7 separate regions of the Homo sapiens genome follow, and all the other regions are linked to region 3. Evidence: promoter capture Hi-C in 16 types of primary human blood cells and fetal thymus (Javierre and others, 2016). All regions are on one chromosome and are shown on one strand. Each heading gives the region's core, a stretch centred on a gene start or on the middle of the fragment in contact. The rest is flanking DNA. Distances are from core to core; before and after follow the strand shown. Region 1 overlaps RBM33 (RNA binding motif protein 33). Region 2 overlaps NCAPG2 (non-SMC condensin II complex subunit G2). Region 3 holds the start of UBE3C (ubiquitin protein ligase E3C). Region 4 holds the start of ESYT2 (extended synaptotagmin 2). Region 5 has its middle 8.3 kb from the start of RBM33-DT. Region 6 overlaps INSIG1-DT (INSIG1 divergent transcript). Region 7 has its middle 2.2 kb from the start of NCAPG2.

The links. The method cuts DNA at HindIII sites, captures the fragments that hold promoters and counts their contacts. A CHiCAGO score of 5 or more calls a contact.
Region 1: a fragment that was not itself captured here is called in contact with the fragment with the promoter of UBE3C in region 3 in 1 of 17 cell types (M1 macrophages); the score reaches 6.2 in M1 macrophages.
Region 2: a contact is called between a fragment that was not itself captured here and the fragment with the promoter of UBE3C in region 3, in 1 of 17 cell types (monocytes). The highest score is 6.6, in monocytes.
Region 4: a contact is called between the fragment with the promoter of ESYT2 here and the fragment with the promoter of UBE3C in region 3, in 4 of 17 cell types (naive B cells, total B cells, monocytes and 1 more). The highest score is 6.4, in naive B cells.
Region 5: a fragment that was not itself captured here is called in contact with the fragment with the promoter of UBE3C in region 3 in 3 of 17 cell types (naive B cells, total CD8 T cells and monocytes); the score reaches 6.2 in naive B cells.
Region 6: a fragment that was not itself captured here is called in contact with the fragment with the promoter of UBE3C in region 3 in 2 of 17 cell types (naive B cells and total B cells); the score reaches 5.4 in naive B cells.
Region 7: a contact is called between a fragment that was not itself captured here and the fragment with the promoter of UBE3C in region 3, in 8 of 17 cell types (monocytes, neutrophils, M0 macrophages and 5 more). The highest score is 12.8, in monocytes.

Annotation. Positions count from the first base shown.
Region 1 is chr7:155,755,547-155,758,246 of GRCh38, forward strand. All of the region lies in intron 14 of RBM33 (RNA binding motif protein 33), which reads left to right. Among named protein-coding and RNA genes, the nearest start is that of SHH, 56 kb to the right of the region's middle. RefSeq lists an enhancer at 1-548. The HindIII fragment of the contact is 1,944 bases long and covers 319-2,262 here.
Region 2 is chr7:158,689,101-158,691,800 of GRCh38, forward strand. It overlaps NCAPG2 (non-SMC condensin II complex subunit G2), which reads right to left. Exons shown (of 28, transcript NM_017760.7): 5 at 1,468-1,622; 6 at 719-853. Among named protein-coding and RNA genes, the nearest start is that of NCAPG2, 14 kb to the right of the region's middle. The HindIII fragment of the contact is 904 bases long and covers 815-1,718 here.
Region 3 is chr7:157,137,676-157,140,375 of GRCh38, forward strand. It overlaps UBE3C (ubiquitin protein ligase E3C), which reads left to right and starts at 1,251. Exons shown (of 23, transcript NM_014671.3): 1 at 1,251-1,663. The coding sequence starts at 1,598. RefSeq lists silencers at 743-1,092, 1,373-1,762, 1,813-1,882. The HindIII fragment of the contact is 7,086 bases long and covers 1-2,700 here.
Region 4 is chr7:158,828,176-158,830,875 of GRCh38, forward strand. ESYT2 (extended synaptotagmin 2) reads right to left here and starts at 1,334. Exons shown (of 23, transcript NM_001367773.1): 1 at 914-1,334. The coding sequence starts at 1,243. RefSeq lists enhancers at 108-177, 2,188-2,297 and silencers at 298-497, 578-627, 718-907, 958-1,057, 1,148-1,877. The HindIII fragment of the contact is 12,010 bases long and covers 1-2,700 here.
Region 5 is chr7:155,634,785-155,637,484 of GRCh38, forward strand. No RefSeq gene overlaps it. Among named protein-coding and RNA genes, the nearest start is that of RBM33-DT, 8.3 kb to the right of the region's middle. The HindIII fragment of the contact is 7,915 bases long and covers 1-2,700 here.
Region 6 is chr7:155,290,571-155,293,270 of GRCh38, forward strand. All of the region lies in intron 1 of INSIG1-DT (INSIG1 divergent transcript), which reads right to left. Among named protein-coding and RNA genes, the nearest start is that of INSIG1, 6.0 kb to the right of the region's middle. RefSeq lists a cis regulatory region at 385-984. The HindIII fragment of the contact is 8,705 bases long and covers 1-2,700 here.
Region 7 is chr7:158,705,642-158,708,341 of GRCh38, forward strand. No RefSeq gene overlaps it. Among named protein-coding and RNA genes, the nearest start is that of NCAPG2, 2.2 kb to the left of the region's middle. The HindIII fragment of the contact is 2,140 bases long and covers 368-2,507 here.

The DNA of each region.
Region 1 (2,700 bases), core at 41-2,540, 1.4 Mb before region 3:
GGGAATTTGTCAAGTGTTGTCACTCTAGAATAATGCTGCTTAGCGTCTGATAGGTATAATCAAGAGTTGAGATTTCTATAGAGGGGGTTAATCAATTTGCTTGCTAGTGAATGCAAGTCAGTGATAGCACTTCTTCATGGGGTTTAAGAGTGAAAATAAGATTTGATCTGTCAAATTGCAGGAAGCCCTGACAATATCAGTAGGTGTTTTTATCTATGCATTTAAACGATTTGTTATAAATAAATTTGTCCTGCTAATGTTGGGGGCTACAGACCTCTTTTTTTTTGTAATGATTAAGCTGATAAAAAGTATTCCCTAAGCTTACTTAATTCAAATAGTGCCTTTTATAAATATACAAAAAAAACTAGTCTAAAAAGCGATTTTTATAGCATTAAAAGATAATCATTTGTGGGAAAAAAATGTTTCTGGTTTGACCAGAGATGACAAAACTTCTTTTCTCTCTCATGTGCTTTGGAGGAAGTAGAAGATATTTAAAATGCTGTCTGAACCTAGTGTTGTTTGAAGAGTTAAAAAGCGAACACCACCCTGGGAAAATTCAGTTTCAAAGCAAACATACTTTTTATGAATAGAATGTATAGTCTGTCACCCACATACAACACTTATATGTGGATGTTAAGATAACAGCCTTCTAAAATTCAATTTGAATCAACAGTATTTTAAAATTTACTTAACTAAGTACTAGTAATTTTAGGATCTCTTTCAATGCTGTAATTATATGCATAACTATAACCTTATAGAAGACTTATAAATAAATGGGTAGATTTAATTTGGCTTGGTTCTTATTCAAATCTTGTCTGTATGTGTGAGTATAGGTATAAAAATATGTAATCAATTTGTTTCTCAGATGTAATCAGTTGAAGAATTTGTTCCTGGATATTTGTACTACAACATACTAAAATCAAAAGTCAAAATCAGGAAGTTGTTTTGGTATATGCAGTAAAAGGGAATTGAAAGCGTTGTTTCCACATTGATCCTGCCATATAAATTGGGCCAAGTGTGAGTCTAGCGCGTTGCAGTTCACTCCTCTCGTGGTGCACTCTGCTTGCTATTTGTTCTGAGAGATGACATGAAATGGTAGCTGGGATCGTGATGTTTAATCTGAGCACGTTGGAAACCCAGGAGAGGCCGAATGTCACTGTGTGCCGCCCGTGAGTTGGAGTGAATGGTAAAACCCCAGGCGAAAGCACAAGTTGCAAAGTAGGCAGCAAAATTTGGGCAGAAACGTCACCAGCAGTTTCCAGATAGCCGGGTAGCTTGGTGGTGGGTAGCATCTGTGGTATCTGGGTAGTATCAAAACCCATATTTTCCTTTCCCCAGCATGGCTGTTGTAATACCTGATTTTGTGGCTAAAATAGGACTTGTCAGTTTACAAGTAATGATTAGGACCACCAAGCTGTATTAGATGCCATTCAGAGTAACGCTTGCCTACTTCTTGACAGAGATTGTAGTGTCAACCACAGTATGGGCTGAAGTGTACCTTGAAATAAACGTCTGTCCATTGGGAAAGGTGAAATGAAAATTTTCTCAAAAACAAAACCACTAATAAAGTAAAATTTGAATGTGATCAACAGAATCCAAAGGGACAAGTTGAATCGAAGAGTCAATGGGAGAATTTGACCCATGGGTAGAAGTTGTTCACCTGATCCAAACTACGCTCCTGGCCACAACCTAGGAATGTGTATGCTAGTTCACATTCTAGTGTGAACTGGAGTAAAACCCGGGAACTTGAAACTGTTCTGTAGAATTAGCTTTTCCTCATGCTAAGTCAAAAGGGAATAATTGTTCTTTTAATTAGAAAAAAAAATTCATTTTTTTCTTACAAAATGAAACAACCTTTTACTTATGTTCAAGCCTTCATTGCTTAGCATGATCTTCAGAAAAATTCAGAAGCACAGCATTATAGTAGCCCTTCATTTAAAGTGATTTAATTGTTGATCCCGTTTGTTTCAACTCTGTCTGAAAATAGTTTCAAAATATGTTAGTGTAAACTCCTCCCCTGGTTTTGGAGCCACAAAGATGTTCCAGCGCTTATTGTGTGACTGAAGTTTGTTTAATGGGCACAATGAGGATACTACTACTTACCTCTTAGGGAGGTGTATTAGGCAGTTCTTGCACTGCTATAAAGAAATACCTGAGACTGGATAATTTATGAAGAGAAGAGGTTTAATTGGCCCAGGGTTCTGCAGGCTTTACAGGAAGCATGGTGCCGGCATCTACTTGGCTTCTAGGGAGGCCTCAGGAAGCTTCCAATCATGGTGGAATGCAGAGTGGGGAGCAGGCGCATTTCATGGCAAAAGCAGGAGCATGGTGGTGTGGGGTGGGGGGCGGGGCATGTGCCATGCACTCTGAATGGCCAGATCTTTTGTGAACTCAGAGCTTGCTTATCACCAAGGGGATGGCCTAAGCCATTCACAGTCATCCGCCCCATGATCCAAACACCTCCCACTAAGCCCCACCTCCAGCACTGGGGATACATTTCAACAGAAGATTTGGGGAGGGACAAAATACCAAAACTCCATCAGGAGGACTGAAGGAAAACAATGTCTGTACGGACCCTAGTACCTTTCTTGTCCTGTTGTAGACATTCAACAGATATGAGCTATGGATTATTTCACTGCCAGTACTAAGTGAATATATTGAATAATACCAAAACTCTTGATGATTAAGATCCCAGGAGTG
Region 2 (2,700 bases), core at 17-2,516, 1.6 Mb after region 3:
GCGAGCCTCTCTGTAATTCTCAATTCTTTAGTAGTCATGTTAACAAAAGTAAAGAAGATTAATTTTAATAATATATTTTATGTAAAGCAATATTTAATATAACAGACAATAAAAATATTGTCTATTATATTAAGTATAGAACAAAAATTATTAATGAGCTATTTTATGTTCATTTCTTTCCCACTAAATCTTCAAATCCATGTGTATTTTATACTTATGGCTAATCTCAGTTCAGTTGGGTCCCATTTCAGGTGCTCAGTAGCCTCATATGGGAGTTGACCCCAGGACGGGCAGTGCAGCAACAGGCCAGAAGCCTCTCTGGATTTACAGGATGGGTAGAAAAAAGAAAGGGAGGATATTATGGGATGACAGTTTTGAGTACATGGCAATTAAAATGGAATTAGGGCAGAAGGCCAGATCTCATTCATAGAGAAGTGCTTTCTCAACCTTATTTTTAATCATTCTTAATTTAAAATGTAATTACGGTTCCCCTAGGTAACACACAGCCACCTGTTACCATCCAATTTAATGATGAAATAAGCAAGGACTTGTAAAATGTCTTCTCTAGTACTGCCATGCAGTAAAAATCATGTGCAGTAAATAGCTCCTGGTAGCTAAGCAACACCGAGCATGGTGCAGACAGGAACCATGTGAACACAGGAGAAACATCTATTAAGAAGCAGCTCACAAACAGATCAAAAAACAAATACCTATTTACCTCTTCTTTCTTGATATAATTAATATTTATGAAGCACTCAAGTAACATATCTTTAATTTCTCCACTTTCCTCCAAATCATAATCAAAGCAATATAAAGCTTGATGGATACGCCAAAGCCGACATACGTCTGCACCCTAGGAATGACACAAAAAATGTGATACCTTTTTCAATGAACAGTAAAGTCATATTTCAAATCAAGTATATTTTATATCATAAATAATGGTAATTCTAGTTGATTCATCAAAGATTAAAAAATAACGACAAATAAAAACAGATTTTAAAATTTGCAAATGCCCCCTATAGCTCTACAGAACATTTTTTTAAAACATAAGGAAAATAATTAAAAATCCAGCAAGTTTAAGAACTTCCTCGATGATGAAGATTTTATACATCTGAACTGTCTAGTGCAGTAGACATTAGCCACATTTCACTGTAGAGCTACTAAAATGTGACTAATGCAACTGAGGAACTGAATTTTTCATTATTTTTAACTTTAAATTTAAACAGCTTTCTGTGGCAAGTGGCTACTACGTTGAATAGCGCAGGTTTAGAATGTTAGGAAGACGTTTAAAAATAAAGTCCTAGCTAGGTGGTGCACTCCTGAAGTCTCAGCTACTTGAGAGGCTGAGGCAGGAGGATTGCTCGAGCCCAGGAGTTTGAGGCTGCAGTGAGCTATGATCATGCCACTGCACTCCATCTGGGCAATAGAGAGAGACCCTGTCTTTAAAAAAATAAAAAGTGAGCATACTGTCTTAGTCTCCAGACTCCTCCTTAGTAACATGACAAAGGCTGTCTTTCCTGTGTCTTCCTTGGCAGGCAGGCCTTTCTCCCACCAGGTAACACACAAATCCTGAATAGAACTCTGTAGTTTTCGTTCAGACTCAGGTAATGCATATAAAATACCTAAAATACAGCACAGTAATTTTCCAATTAGTAAGGCAAATTCTTATTACTTCAGAGTCAACAGTTTAGAGTATCATGACTTTATATATTATTTAAAGCTTTGCTAAGCAAATAATATTAGTTATGTTTAACTTGCCAAAGATTTATATACATTAGTTATAAAATGCAAATAATGTTAATTAAAAAACTGTTTGACGATTGTTATAAAAAGACCCTCAACAGACATAATAGAAAAGAGATTTTTGGAACTGGAAGTCTCAGAGAAATCGTATCACCAATTTTAGAAAGGCAGATGCTGAGGCTAACCAAACCTCAGTGTAACAACACCAATGGTATCTCTGTTAACACCAGAGCCAAGACAGGTCTACTGACCAATCAATAATCCACTACTATCCCTCAATGTGCCAGCCTCAAATTTTGGCTCAGAGGTGAAAAACAGTCAAAGCAATTACCATAATGAATACAAAAACTGCAGTGCTTTTATTAACAGAAAAGCTCAATAATTAGATTAATGATACTAATGCTCATAATTATAATCTGTAGGTATCTGAATGTCATTACACTAATATAACATTCCTGAATTAACTGGGAAGTTGATAGCAACTACAGTGTTAGCACTAATCATTTCACTAGTTATTTGCAGACCATACAAATAAACTGATAGTAAAATTCACAAAGCATTTGGAAGCTATTTTCATTATGATTGGGGTGACTTTTTAATAAGACACTGTATTTCAACTCAAGAATTCAGAATAAAACAATGTACTATAAAACATACATAAATCCAAGTGATGCTAAGAATAAGAAGCTTGATGAGATACTTTGTCACAACAAACTAATTACACTCGCACAGTGAAGGATGAGGGTATGTGAAAAGTTTTCTTAAAAATCATTAAGATATTTTTACATCTTTTGTAACTAAAATTTTATATATTTCATAATCAAATATTTTCATTAACTTAGACTAAATTAATAACTAGTTTTACAGTTTTGTTAAAACTTGAAAAGTACCATCATTTAAATTTCAATACAGTAAAACTCCCCTAGGAGTCAATAATCACTCCTCAGATCACGTTCA
Region 3 (2,700 bases), core at 1-2,500:
TGCCTTAGCCTCCAGAGTAGCTTGGACTACAGGCGTGCACCACCACACCGGCCTAAGTTTTGTATTTTATTAGAGATGGGGTTTCACCATGTTGGCCAGGCTGGTCTCGAACTTTTCACTTCAGGTGATCCGCCCGCCTTGGCCTCCCAGAGTGCTGGGATTACCGGCGTGAGCGACCGTGCTCGGCCGCAGGACGACTGTAGATGATATCGTATTGTGTGTTGAAATTTTGCTAAGAGAGTAGATTTTATGTACTCTTACCACACACACACAAAGAGGGTAGTCATTTCACAATGTCTCTATGAAATCATCATGTTGCACACCTTGTATACAACCAAAAATCAATTTTTAGAAATTGGTTTCAATCGTGTATGATATATATGTATATGCACATGTATATGAGATATTATGTATACGTATGTGTGGATATAAGACACATGTTTATGTATAGGTGGTCCCCAACTTAAAATGGCTCAACTTACAATTTTTTGACTTTGTGATGGGTTTATTGTAGCATTAAATACATTTTCAACTTACAATATTTTCATCTTACGATGGGTTTATCAGGACAAAGCCCCATGGTAAGTCCAGGAGCAAATATTTTTGCATACACAGGTATGTGTACATGATACATATTTATATGTATTGATGCTGTATCTATAGATGCATATGTGTGCTATGTATGAGGCAAATCTGCGCATGTCTGTGTACATGGTAAATATTTACGTCCGTCTGTGCGTGTCATAGACATAGAACAGGTGGGATGTAAACAGACGGGCTGGGCCTAGCTGCTCCTTTCCCGCCTCACTCGAGTCTGGCACCAGATTGGCCGCTCCCAGCCCGCTCCGGGTGCCGGCCCCTGCACCCCACCCTGCACCCCGCACCCTGCCCTGCACCCCATCCCGGCCCGTGCCTCGCACTCCACCTTTCCCGCACCCTGCCCCGCACCCAACACCTCCCGCGCCCCTCGCCGCGCTCCCCCAGCACGCACCAGGCCCCGCCCACTCCGCCGCGTGCCCAGCCCGCGTCACCGCCGTCCTCCCCAGGCTCCAGCGCGCCTTGCGGGGCCGCGCACGCTAGCGGAACCGCCGGGAAGAGCGCCGTGCCGTCAATGGCGGAGGCGCGCACGTCTGCAGGGCCGCGCACGTCTGCAGGGCCGCGCACGTCTGCAGGGCCGCGCACGTCTGCAGGGCCGCGCACGTCTGCAGGGCCGCGCACGTCTGCAGGGCCGCGCACGTCTGCAGGGCCGCGCACGCACTGACGGCTGACCGCCATCTTCCCTCCCGAGGCGGCAGTTCCAGGTGCAAGCGCCGGGTTTGCTGCCCGCTGGGCGCCCCTGCAGCGGCCCGAGCTGTGGCCGGCGTGGATGAGGGGCAGGCGAGGCAGGGCCGCCCCTCCAGTATTGCCGCCCCTCCCGCCCCAGGGCAGGGCTGGGAGGGTACAGCCCGGGGGCGGGCTCGGGTCGCCTCCCGGCCGCCGCGTCCTCGCTGCCCCGGGCCGGGCGGGCGGGCGCCGAGAGCCTCCCAGCCCGCCCCGTGCCCCGCCCGCCCGGCTGCTTCCGCGGCGGCGCTGCCCGCACATGGGCTAGGCTGCCAGGATGTTCAGCTTCGAAGGCGACTTCAAGACGCGGCCCAAGGTGTCCCTTGGCGGCGCGAGCAGGAAGGTGAGGGCCGGGCTGGCGGGGCGCCCTCGGCTCGGGGCCTGCGCGGCCGGGGCTCGGGGCTGGGACTCGGGGCTGGACTCGGGGCTGGACTCGGGGCCGAGACTTGGGGCTGGATTCGGGGCCTCCCTGGCGGGGACTCGGGGCTTCCTCGCCGGATCTCGGGGCCGCTCCGGCCGGGACTCGGGGTTGGACTCGGAGCCGAGACTTGGGGCCAGGACTCTGGCTGGGGCTTAGGACTGGACTCGGGGCCTCCCTGGCTGGAACTCGAGGCCGCGCCCGTGGGGGCCTTGCCTGTCCACTGCGCTTCGGGACCCGGGCGCGCTGGCCGTGGCTCCCTTCCATGCAGGAGGCCGGTGAACCCTGGCACGCTTTGTGCCACCCAAGGTGAACTTACCCTTTCTGGGTGTTTCCTTTCAGAAATGCGCTTTCCATGCTCGCTCCCGCATGGCATCAGGGAGTGGCTGCTTTTCGAATGCCACCTGAAGGGCGTTTTCGGTTGTAGAAGGTGAACGGCACGCATTTGCTGATGTCGATAATCTCTAAAGTAGAGGCAGAACGTCTCATGAATAGCCACGTGTTTGAATCCAAGACGAGGGCAATTATTTGCCACCAGCCTCCTGGAAACTGTGGAGAGACTCCGGACTTACATCTGTTGTGATCGACATTAAGTTGTTCGCATGGTAATTGTTTAGGATAAGGGTAGGCAAACCATGACGCCTCTGTTCTAGTCTAGAATTTCTAGCTGTCTGTCCCTGAAGACGGGCATCAGTTGGTTCACTGGAACCGCTAAGTCGTTGAACACTGTGTGGTCTTGTTCCCGCCCCTCCCTTCCCACCCCTTCCCATCATTTCTGAAATGTTCTTTAAAATGCTTCACCTAGTTTTTCTTGTCTATCAGTATATTCTGTATATCACAACCACCAGGTAGGCACATAACGCAGAGTGGGTGCTGGCAGGCCAAGGAGGAACTGCTGTTATTAAGATTGTGCTGTGGGGCTGTGTTTGGTGGTTTCTGAGGTTAGAAGGGAACCTGGGTAA
Region 4 (2,700 bases), core at 84-2,583, 1.7 Mb after region 3:
ACTTACTGCCCTTGAAATGCGTCAGAAACAACCAAGACACGAGTGCGTCTTCTCCCGGTAGAAGAAAAAGTTAACTTCTCCCCCACCAGCTGTCATTACGTTTTTTAAAAAACAGAGAGAAGGAAAAGCTGAAGCCACCCGGAGCATTTCCAGGCCGGCAGGGCTTTGGGAATGCGCACGAGAATCGCGCTGGGCGCTCTGAGAGCAGAACCGGCCGCTCAGGCCCCTAAGGAGACCCCGCGGGCGGCACCAGGAGGAAGCGCGCGCTCCGGGCAGGGCCGCGGCCGAAGAGGGGGCGCCAAGCCCGGTACCTGCCGCTGGCGCTCGGGGTCTGCAGGCCGGGGGAGGGAAGCGGGCTTTGTGAAGAGGGGTCTCCGAGAAAGCCGCGCGGGACGGCGAGGGGAGGCTTCACGAGGGCAGACGCGCCCCGGACCCGGAGCCTGGGCGGGCGGGGAAGCGGAGAAGGGGACGCCCGACTTGGACGGAGGGAGGGCACGGAGCACTCAGGACTAGGGCGGGAGCGGCGAGCAGCGGGCGGCGGCCCCAGGCGGACAGGTTCGCAGGGAGTGGGCCGGAGGCCGGGGCGGGGCTGGGGTCTGCACTCGCCCTAGCGGGCAGGTCGCCAGCAGGCTGGGAGTCGGGGCCGGGGGGCGGGGCGGGGTCTGCACTCACCTAGGTTGGCAGGTCGCAGGAACCGGCCCGGGGGCCGGGGCTGGGGTCTGCACTCGCCCAGGCGGAAGGGAAGCGCCTGCCTGGACCGGGGTGGGTGGGGGACTACGAAGGCGGGAGCCGGGGCAGGGCTGGGGTCTGCACTCACCCAGGCGGCAGGTCGCGGGGAGGGGAGTGCCTGCCTGGACGAGGGGAGATCGGGACTGGTGGTCAGGGGTCGGGACGGGCAGGGGTCTGCACTCACCCAGGCGGGCAGGTCGCAGGCGCGCACCCCCAGGCGCACGACGCGCTCCTCGTCTTCCAGCAGCGCCAGCGCGCGGCACAGGCGCAGGGCCTTGAGGCCGCGGCTGCGGCGACACCAGGCGAGCAGCGCGAGCGCGAGGAGAACCCAGCTGAAGCTGAGCCCCAGGTAGCCCAGCGCGTACACGGGCAGCAGCAGCGCGAAGCTCCGCGCCAGCTGCGCCAGCAGCCCGGGCAGCTCCACGCTCAGCACGCCCCCGGGGTTCTCAGGCGCCGCGCGGCCCCCAGCCCCGCCGGCGCCCGCCTCCGGGCCCTCGCCCCGGGCGCCGCTCATCGCCCCGCAGTGCCGCGCTGCCCTCCCGGCCGAGGCGGGCTGGGTGCTCGCGCTGATCCCGGGCGGCTCAGCCCCGCGCCAGCGCCCCTCTGAGGGGACGCGGCTCCGCCGCACGCCCGCCTCCGCCCGGGACGGTGGCGTCATCACGCGGGGCGGGAGCGGCGTGGGCCTGGGGCTGGCACGTCACCGGGAGCGGGCGGGGTGGATACTGACGTCATCGCGCGGGGCGGGCCGTGGGCCGGGTCGGAGACTACTGGAGTGGGCCGGGCAGGCGCACGACGTCATCACGCGAGCGTTGTGTCTCGGCTGGCGGGAGCCGGGGACGGGAAAGGAGAGTGCTCGGTGCGTGGGCTGGGCGTGCCTGCGTCCCCTCGAGCCCCACGGGGCACCCTCCCCACTTGCCTGTGGCCTCGGAGCCCGCGGGCGGTTTTGGCTCGGCGTCGCGCCCCGAGGCGGCTTCCGGGTGCGTGGCTGCGCTCGCCGAGGCCCGGGAAGTTGCCGTCGTCAAACCCAAAGGCTGACCGCCTCTGGGAGCTGCTGGCAAACGTGGGGGTGCGCGGCCGCTGAGCGCAGCCGGGGTGGCGGTGGGATGAGAGGGCGGCGTCCCTGTTTGCGGTCATTTTGCGGCCAGGAGGACGGGTGAGAGGGCGCCGCCCGCCGGAGGTCGGACGGGCGCCGCTGGCGGGAGTCCTCCGGTATTTTTCGGTGTGAGGTTGCCTAGCCAGTGTGCAAGGTTGTGGCTTTTGCGGAGTCTCTCGGGACGGTCTTGTTATCGGGCATTCCGGCGTGAGAACGCTGCCTCTGGGGCCCTTCCCACCCTGCTTGTCAGGGTTTTAAACACAAACGACTCCGTTGTGACCTTGACAACTCTCACACAGTTCAGTTGGCTTTTAAGATGCCTTTAATCCCAAAAGTCCTCCCTGAGGGGTCTGGTAGTGCCGGGCAAAGACCACCGCAAGCGCCCAAGGGACGCTGTTGACACTCGGGAACTCCACCCCGGGCACCACGCAGCTTCGCCGAAGGTGTTAATATTGTGGCCAACTATGAATAGCTGTTTCAAACGACTAATTTTGGGCCTTTCCTGTGATTCCTGAGGTCACTTTTCAGTTAACTCAAAAACACAACTATTGATCACTTTACTTTCCAGTGAATTCAATCGAGTTAATTATATTTGTTCTGTAGTTTCTTTCAAGGAAACTCCAAGCCAAACAGTAGCAAAGAACATCCTACTTGACTGTTTTTGAGCATATTCAGTGAATTCCAAGGAAATTTTTACTGAATTTGTAACAGAGTAGGGCACTGGCAGGTACTGAATGAATAAACAAATGCCCAGAAGAAGCAGGGTCACCTTTACATAGGAATCTGTCTCCCCTCGTTCCTGCGTCTTCATAATTTTGTGTGCATATGTATGTGGAGATTATATCACATATGTAAAACATTGCAGAGTCTAAACTCTC
Region 5 (2,700 bases), core at 17-2,516, 1.5 Mb before region 3:
TTCATTTCCTTTGGCATATACCCAGTAGGGGGATTGCTGGATCATCATGGCTGTACTAATTCACATACCCACCAAGTGTAAAAAGGTTCCCTTTTCTCCATGTCCTCTCCAACACTTGTTATCTTTCATCTGTTTGATAACAGCTATTCTAATGGGTTACATGGAAGACAATGTTTCTTTTGATTAGTGTTTGCATGGCATATCTTTCCTTGCACTTAGCCTATCTACATCTTTAAAGTGTGTTTCTAGAGATGGAGTCTCACTCTGTCGCCCAGGATGGAGTGCAGTGGCACCATCTCAGCTCACTGAAACTTCCACCTCCCGGGTTCAAGAGATTCTCTGGCCTCAGCCTCCCGAGTAGCTGGGATTACAGGTGCCTGCCACCACGCCCGGCTAATTTTTTTTTTTCATATTTTTAGTAGAGATGGGGTTTCACCATGTTGGATAAGCTGGCCTTGAACTCCTGACCTCCAGTGATCCGCCTGCTTCAGCCTCCCACAGTAATAGAGAACCTATATTTCATTCTTACATCTTAATGCAATCTGACACTTTTTTGGTGTTAGGACTGTTGTGTGTGTATGGATCATTCACATTCAATAGAAATTGAGTTGATATGGTTGGATTCCAACCTACCATCTTGTTAGCTGTTTTTTATTTAATTTGTTATTTCTTTTTTTCTTGGATTAAGTTAGTTTTTAAAAATGATTTCCTTTTATCTTTCCTAAACATATATATATAAACACACATATATATATAAAAGTGTGTGTGTGTGTATATATATATATATATATATATATACACACACACTTTTCTTTAAAAAATTTTTTGGTGGTCACCTTAGGGTTTACAATTTATATTTTTAATTACTATGCATCTATTTTCAAATATTATACTGTACTTCTTCACGTGTAGTATAAGAACCTTATAGCAACATATGACCACTTCCTCCCTTTCATCCTTTGTATTATTGTCATGCATTTCACTTGTTCATATGCTCTAAGCACACAATACATTTTCCCTATTTTTACTCCAATCAATCTTTCAGAGCATTAAAAACAGGGAGAAAAATGTTACCGTCATATATGCAATTTCAACCACACTCATCATCAACCGTGTTCATCATTTCTTTGTGTTGAACCAGATTTCTGATTGTTATCATAGTCCTTGTGCCTAAAAAACTTCTTTTAACATTTCCTGTAGAGCTTGTCTGCTCGCAATGAATTCCCTCCATTTTTGCTCCTTAGGTATTTCTGCTGGGTAACTGTTTCTGACAACAGGTTTTTCCATCAGTACATAAAAGATTGGTCATGCCACTGTCTTCTGGCTTGTATGCTTTTTGATGAGATAGCTGCTATAATTCTTATTGTTCTTTTCCTCTCTAGGAAAAGAGAAAATGTTTCTTTTTCAGCAATTAGAACATGATATATTTGGATATGGGGGCTTTTGCTTGTTTGCTTGTGTCTTGGTATTTATCTCGCTTGGTGTTATCTGAGCTTCTTGGGTCTATGTTTTGGTGCCTGTCATAAATCTTGAAAAAATTAGTTCTTCAGACATTTGTTCCACTCCTTTCTCTCTTCTTCTTCCAACTATACATATGTTAGACCATTCAATGTTGTTGAACAGTTCATAGATACTCTGCTCTGTTTCTTGCACTCCTTCTTCTCTTTGCTTCAGTTTGGATAATTTTTATTTATATTTCTTCAAGGTAACTTATTCTTTCCATGTCAAGTGTATCAATGAACCCATTGAAGGCATTCTTCACCTCTATCATTGTGCTTTTGATTTCTATCATTTCCATTTCTAGCATTTCCTTTTGGTACACTGAATTTTTGTTTGAAACCTCGTTTTTTTTTTAGTGATAGTGTATACTATGGTAAATATTTTCTATGATTGGAGATGAGCACATCTTGCTGTCTAGTAGGTTGTTAGTATGAGTTTGCTATCTTATTCAGGAGTTGGGCTTAGTGAGATATTTGTTGTTGCCACAGCTATCCTCTGTGCACAAAAGGCTCCAAATTCCTCCGGCAACACCTTGTACTTAGAACATGGGCTCATTTGTGAGATTGTTTTCTCAGTGTCTGCGCTTCCTCTGGGCTTTGGGTCTTCTCTTTGCGCTGTAGTCCTGAAAGAAGCAGTCTCTTGTGGGCCTCCCAACTGTATTTTGTCGTTTTTACTTGACATCTATTATTCTGGTGACAGGAGATAGGAGAGGATCAGAATCCTCTGATGTTCTGTTTAAGCATCCTCTTACACAGGGAGTGTCTGGGTCTCAGGGATGTGGACTTCAAAATACTTCTCCCACCAGCTGCAGTGTTGGGCTCGGCAGGTATCCCTGATCCTCTCCTAGGGTAGAGCTTTTTATTTTTCTGTCCCCTTTGCACAATGGAAATGGGCTTCCCCATTGCCCTAAGGCCACGGTTTTTGTGGCCTTTCTCCCTGAAGGCCTTTTTCCATAAGTGAGATAAGAGAGGTGTGTACCAATGGAGTTTCTCGAGTGGACACTGTTCCCTCCCTCAAACAACATAATGAGGAACTTTCTCAGGATTCTCCCACCTTTCCTGTGAGAACCTGGTGGAGTTCATGAACAAGAAGCCTGCAAGAGGAGGCAAACCTCTCTACTCTGCAGCACCAAGGGACTTCATACTCTCACACATGGTATTTAGAAATTCATTCTAAACGTTTTAGCTGACTCTTATTTCC
Region 6 (2,700 bases), core at 143-2,642, 1.8 Mb before region 3:
AGAGAACACTCATCTTTCAGGTGCCGTGAAATTGAGTAACACAGATTATATGGTGTGTCTATATTTTGGGTGGTAGCCACCGACCGTGGGGCCAAGGCCTGACATGACCACACAGGTGGCAAGCCCCTGGCCCCTCCGCCCCTCACTCCTTCCTGCTCCATGCTCCACATCCCTCCCAGTCCCGGAGGACAGAAGGCTGAAAGCAAGGTGTTTCCAGGCCCTGCTCCCTGTGAGAGCCCTACGGGACAATCCTTCCTTACTCCTTCCGGCCTCTGGTGGCTCCCAGCAAACCATGGCGCATGTCCGCCTCCGTCCTCACACGGCTTCTCCTGCATGTCTGTCTCTGGGTCTCACCTCCTCTTCTTAGGAGGAAACAGTCATGTTGGATTTGGGCCCACCCTACTCCAGTGGGAACTCATCTTAACTCATTACATCTCCAAAGACTCGATTTCCAAATAAGGTCACATTCTGAGGTTCCCAGAAGGACATGAATTTGGGGGCACACCATCCCACCCAGTGCACCCCCTCTGCCACTGCTATCTGCTGCCTTCACTCCCCAGGGACTCAGACACCTGACACACAGTCTGTCTCCATATCCCAAACCTGTCATTGTGCTGAGGACTTCGTCCCACTCAAGCATGACTCATCCAAGGCCTCGCCTCTGGGTTCCCTGACCTCCTTGGCCCTGGTGACTCACTCCACACCACTCCAGCCACCCAATCCCAGGCTCATCGTGGGGACTGCCACCCTCTGCAGTGGCTCTCCCCTGACGCCATGTGCCCACACAGCCTCCTCCTGCCCAGGCTCTCGCCTTCAGATCACCCATCCAGTAATGAATCTGTGGGAGCTTGGGTTGCATTAATCAATGAATATTGCTACCCTTGTAGGGCCAATACCCAGTGTTCACATAGGGCAAGCCTCTACACACTGACCCTTCCCTCTGTGGGGCCCTCTTCCTCCCGGCATACTCCTTTCACCTCCATTTCACCTGACCCAGGTTCCATGACGCCACCAGCCGCCTGCCGCTAACCTGCCCTCCACTGCTCCATTGCCCCTCCTTGGCACCACCAGGAAAAAACCAATTCTAGAGGCCCCTCGAATGCTCTGCCATTGCTACCCAGCCTGGAGTGTCGTAGAGAAGAACTCCCACGCCACCCTGCAGATTGGGCCCTGTGAAGTCGCCATCACAAACCTCCACCAGGCACTCCACACCAAAGGGTTTACACTCCCAGTTTCCAATCGCTCCTGTCTCCCTCTTAACTCAGGAGCTCTCCTCCTTCTTCAGAAATGACAGAAACTTCCTGAGGGGAAGGCGACCCCACCACACCGCCCCCATCTCTCCCACCTACTTCCTCAGTAGAGGGTGTGCCTGCCCAGGAATCCCCACTAGGATTGGTCCTAGACACCAATCTCCTCCTCTAATCTTCTCCTCAGGGACCTCACTCTCCACTGCCTGCTCTCACTCCCTCTTCTTCAGTCTTTCTTTATTTTATTATTATTATTTTTGAGACAGAGTCTCACTCTTGTCACCCACGCTGGAGGGCAATGGAGCAATCTCGGCTCACTGCAACCTCCACCTCCTGGGTTCAAGCGATTCTCCTGCCTCAGCCTCCCGAGTAGCTGGGATTACAGGCATGTGCCACCACGCCTGGCTAATTTTTGTATTTTTAATACAGACGGGGTTTCACCATGTTGGTCAGGCTGGTCTCGAACTCCTGACTTCGTGATCCACCTGCCTCAGCTTCCCAAAGTGCTGGGATTACAGGCGTGAGACACCACGCCCTGCCCTTCTTCTTCAATCTTTCTACTGGGTCCATCAGCGTTTATATTTGTTCACGTCTCTCATTTTTTAAAACAAAACAGGCTGGGCGCCGTGGCTCATGCCTGTAATCCCAACACTTTGGGCGGGCAGATCACCTGAGGTCAGGGGTTCAAGACCAGCCTGGCCAACATGGTGAAACCCTGTCTCTACAAAAATACAAAACTTAACCGGGTGTGGTGGCAGGTGCCTGTAATCCTGAGTGGGAGGCTAAGGAGGGAGAATCCCTTGAACCAGGGAGGTGGAGGTTGCATGAGCTGAGATCGAGCCACTGCACTCCAGCCTGGCTGACAGAGCAAGACTCTGTCTCAAAATAAACAAACAAACAGACAGACAAACTAAACTCTTTCCCCATCACTCTCTCCTCCAGCTTCCATCATCTCTCCCCTCCTTCTCACAGCCAGACCCCTTCCAGAGGGATCTTCACTGGCAGCCTCATTTTCCTTGTCTCCTTATCTCATGGAAGCGCAGCTTCCCCCGTGACTCAGGCCACTCACACCGAGCTTCCTGCTGACCACATCACAGGACCCCCAGACATGATTGGTCTCTGTCTTGCATGCCATGGCTGCCACTTTCTCCTTTCCAGAACATCCCCCCCCCGGATTTCTTGGTCGCACACTTTCTTCCTATCTTACTGGACCTTCTGCCACTGCCCCTGGCAGCCCCTTTCCTCTGCTCCAGCCTCAGGGCTGTACGAGGCACACTGACTTCTCATCCTACACAGTCTGCCTTGGCCCACCCTCCACTCCAATGCAGAGTCACCATCTGCAGTGGTCTCTGCGATGGATTCACCAACAGCTCTTCACATTGGAGGGTCATCTCTCTGCCAATCATAACTGTTCTACTCCCCTTTCCAGTGATCAATATAGGCATGGACAGTC
Region 7 (2,700 bases), core at 188-2,687, 1.6 Mb after region 3:
CTCTTTACCACCGAGCTCTGCATCCCTTCGTGAGGACTTGGCCTTCCCTGGAGCTATATTCTTTCATGCTTGAGATGTCTAGAGTGGTATCTGTTTTCCTGGCTTAACTCAAGCCAGAGGTCTTGGCGAGATTGAAGTCGTTGCACTGTGGGAGCACAGCACCAACCAATAGGAACATCATGGGAGCCACAAGTGCACTTGTAAATTTCTAGTGACCACATTAGAAAAATGAAGATAAATAGGTGACATTAATTTTTAAATATGTTTTATTTAGCCTAGTATATCAAAAATATTTATGTTACTTGTTGGAATATCGTTTCAACAAGCAATATAAAATTATAGCAGGGAGAAGACTGGTTTACTAGGAAGCTTGCAACAGTGAAGCAAGGCAGGCTGCAGAGGGGAGGGAGAAGACCCACTCAGAGGATGCTGAGTCTGGGACCCTTGTCAACAGGTGGCCGATATCTAACATTGCCTATTTCATCCTGGGGCTCCAGCCACCTCTGACCTCCTCCTCCCTCCATACACAGATCCTTCCCTGCCATTTCTTGAATTTTGGTGCCCTCATCTTCTCACTGCTTTCTTCTTAGCAATTTCCTTCATATCCAAGGTGCAAACTGCCACCTTCAAGCAGTGACCTCTGCATCTGGATTTGCAAGACACGGTTATTTCTGAACTCCAGAATTTTCAACAGCTCACTGCCTACTCCCACGCTGGTGCTGACATGCATCCAAAACAGATATCGACTTCCCCTCCCACCCCTGAATCCTGCCCCTTTCCTTATGCTGGTCCCTCCTCCAATCAGCCATCTGTTCCTGGGGTTTCCACTTCCTGAGTAGGAATAATGTAACAAGTTACGCATGTGAGCTCTGAAGCTGTACCACCTGGGCTAACCTGGTTCTGTGCTCACTAGCTGGTGACCTTTGACAAGCCATGGACGACTGAGCCTCAGTTTCCTCATCTATCAAATGGGACCTACTTAAGTACTGAGCCTCCTCTAGGGGGTTGTTATGAGGCCTAAATGTCTGTATAATGCAGAGCTCAGCCTCCTCTAGGGGGTTGTTATGAGGCCTAAATGTCTATGTAGTGCAGTGCTCAGAGGCACGTGGAAGCAGGGCAGCAGGAGCGCCCAGTGCACCCCCAATGCACCTGCCCATGCAGCCACTAATGTCATAGGATCCTTTGGGTATCGCTTCACCAGCTAGAAACCTCCGTGGCCAGCGGTGCCTCTGCTAGAGTTTTGCTCGAGCCCACTCAGCCCAGCAGGTTGCACTCGGCTTGCACTACCAACCCAGATCCCACGCCTGCCAAGGGTGAGCCAGGTGCAGAGCGGCAAGGGGTATGTGAGCAAGCGAGCATGGGGTCCAACCACTGCGCACACCCAGCCATGCAGCTGCTGTGGTGGAGCAGGCAGCTCTAGGTGCCTGCACAGCTGCCGGCTCCATGCAAGGCTGTGGCTGGACCAGAGGTACCACAAGTGGCTTCCACTGCAGGCATCAGCATCTGGACAAGGGGAACATGGTGGCACCCGAAAGCTCACAGATGCCAGGAGCCACAGAGCCCCAAAGGGGGGTTACACTGTGTCACAGCCCTGGCTCGGGGAGCCCCGAGGTCTGGGCTCCCAGAAGGGCCACAGCTCTTCTGTCCTTCTCATCACCCACAGCGTGGCTAGCAGGGGGTCGTGTTTCCGGGGCGGCATGTTTCACCTCATTTGTGTTACAGGTCTTTTGGTCCTGCCGCCCCACACCGGTCCACGGCTCCTTGGCTGTCCCGGCCCCACCGCTGCTTCCCACTGCATGGGGTGGCCACTGGGCGCCAGCAGAGGGTGGGAGGGCTATAGCATTATAGCTCTGGCTTGGGGAATCCCAAGGCCTGGGCCTCTACAAGGGTCACCACTCTTCACTCCCTCAGTCTGGGAGCGTGTCACCACCCGCAGCTCAGCGACCCGGCCAGGAACCCGTTACAGCCACTTTGGCTCCCACCTGCAACTTGGCAAGCTGGCCAGGAAAGTATTACAGCTCGTTTTGCTCTCACCATTCAGCAGGTTCCAAGTTCTTGTCCCATGTCCAGGAAGAATGAGGTTTGGCAGACATCTGGAGGGTGAGCAAGGCAGAGAACAGCTGACCAAATAGCTCTCAGTGGAGAGGAGACTCGAAGTGGGTAGCTCCTATCCACAGGCACGTATGGGCTCAGAATGGAGGAAGTACATGTTGATTGGTCCATAGACAGGAGGAAGTGTGTGCTGATTGGCCCATGGGCAGGCCTGGAAAAAGCACTACTTGATTGGCTGAAAGGCATCAAGTAAGTTCTCTTTCTGGATCTCGGACTTCACCAGGAACTGGCATCCTGGCCCAGGAACTTCAGGCTGTCCCTGGCTTGAAAGTGGGGTTTCACCAGGGACCTGCCCCTTCCCACCCAGGAACCTGTCTGCCTCCCGCTGCCATCACCGTTCACTGGGAATGTGACCTTCCCCGCAAATAGATGACACTCCTCCAGAACTCAGCTCAAGCTTTACCTTCTATAGGGGTTTATTTCCTGAACCCCATAACCCTCACTGTAATGCAATCTCTTAGCCCCCTACCACAGGCCTCATCATCTCCTCCATGTCAAGCACTGTGTCATCCTTAGTCCTATATCCGTGGCGTAAGGCCTGGCACATTTTAGATGCTTGAAGAAAATATTTTCTGAATAAATGAATGA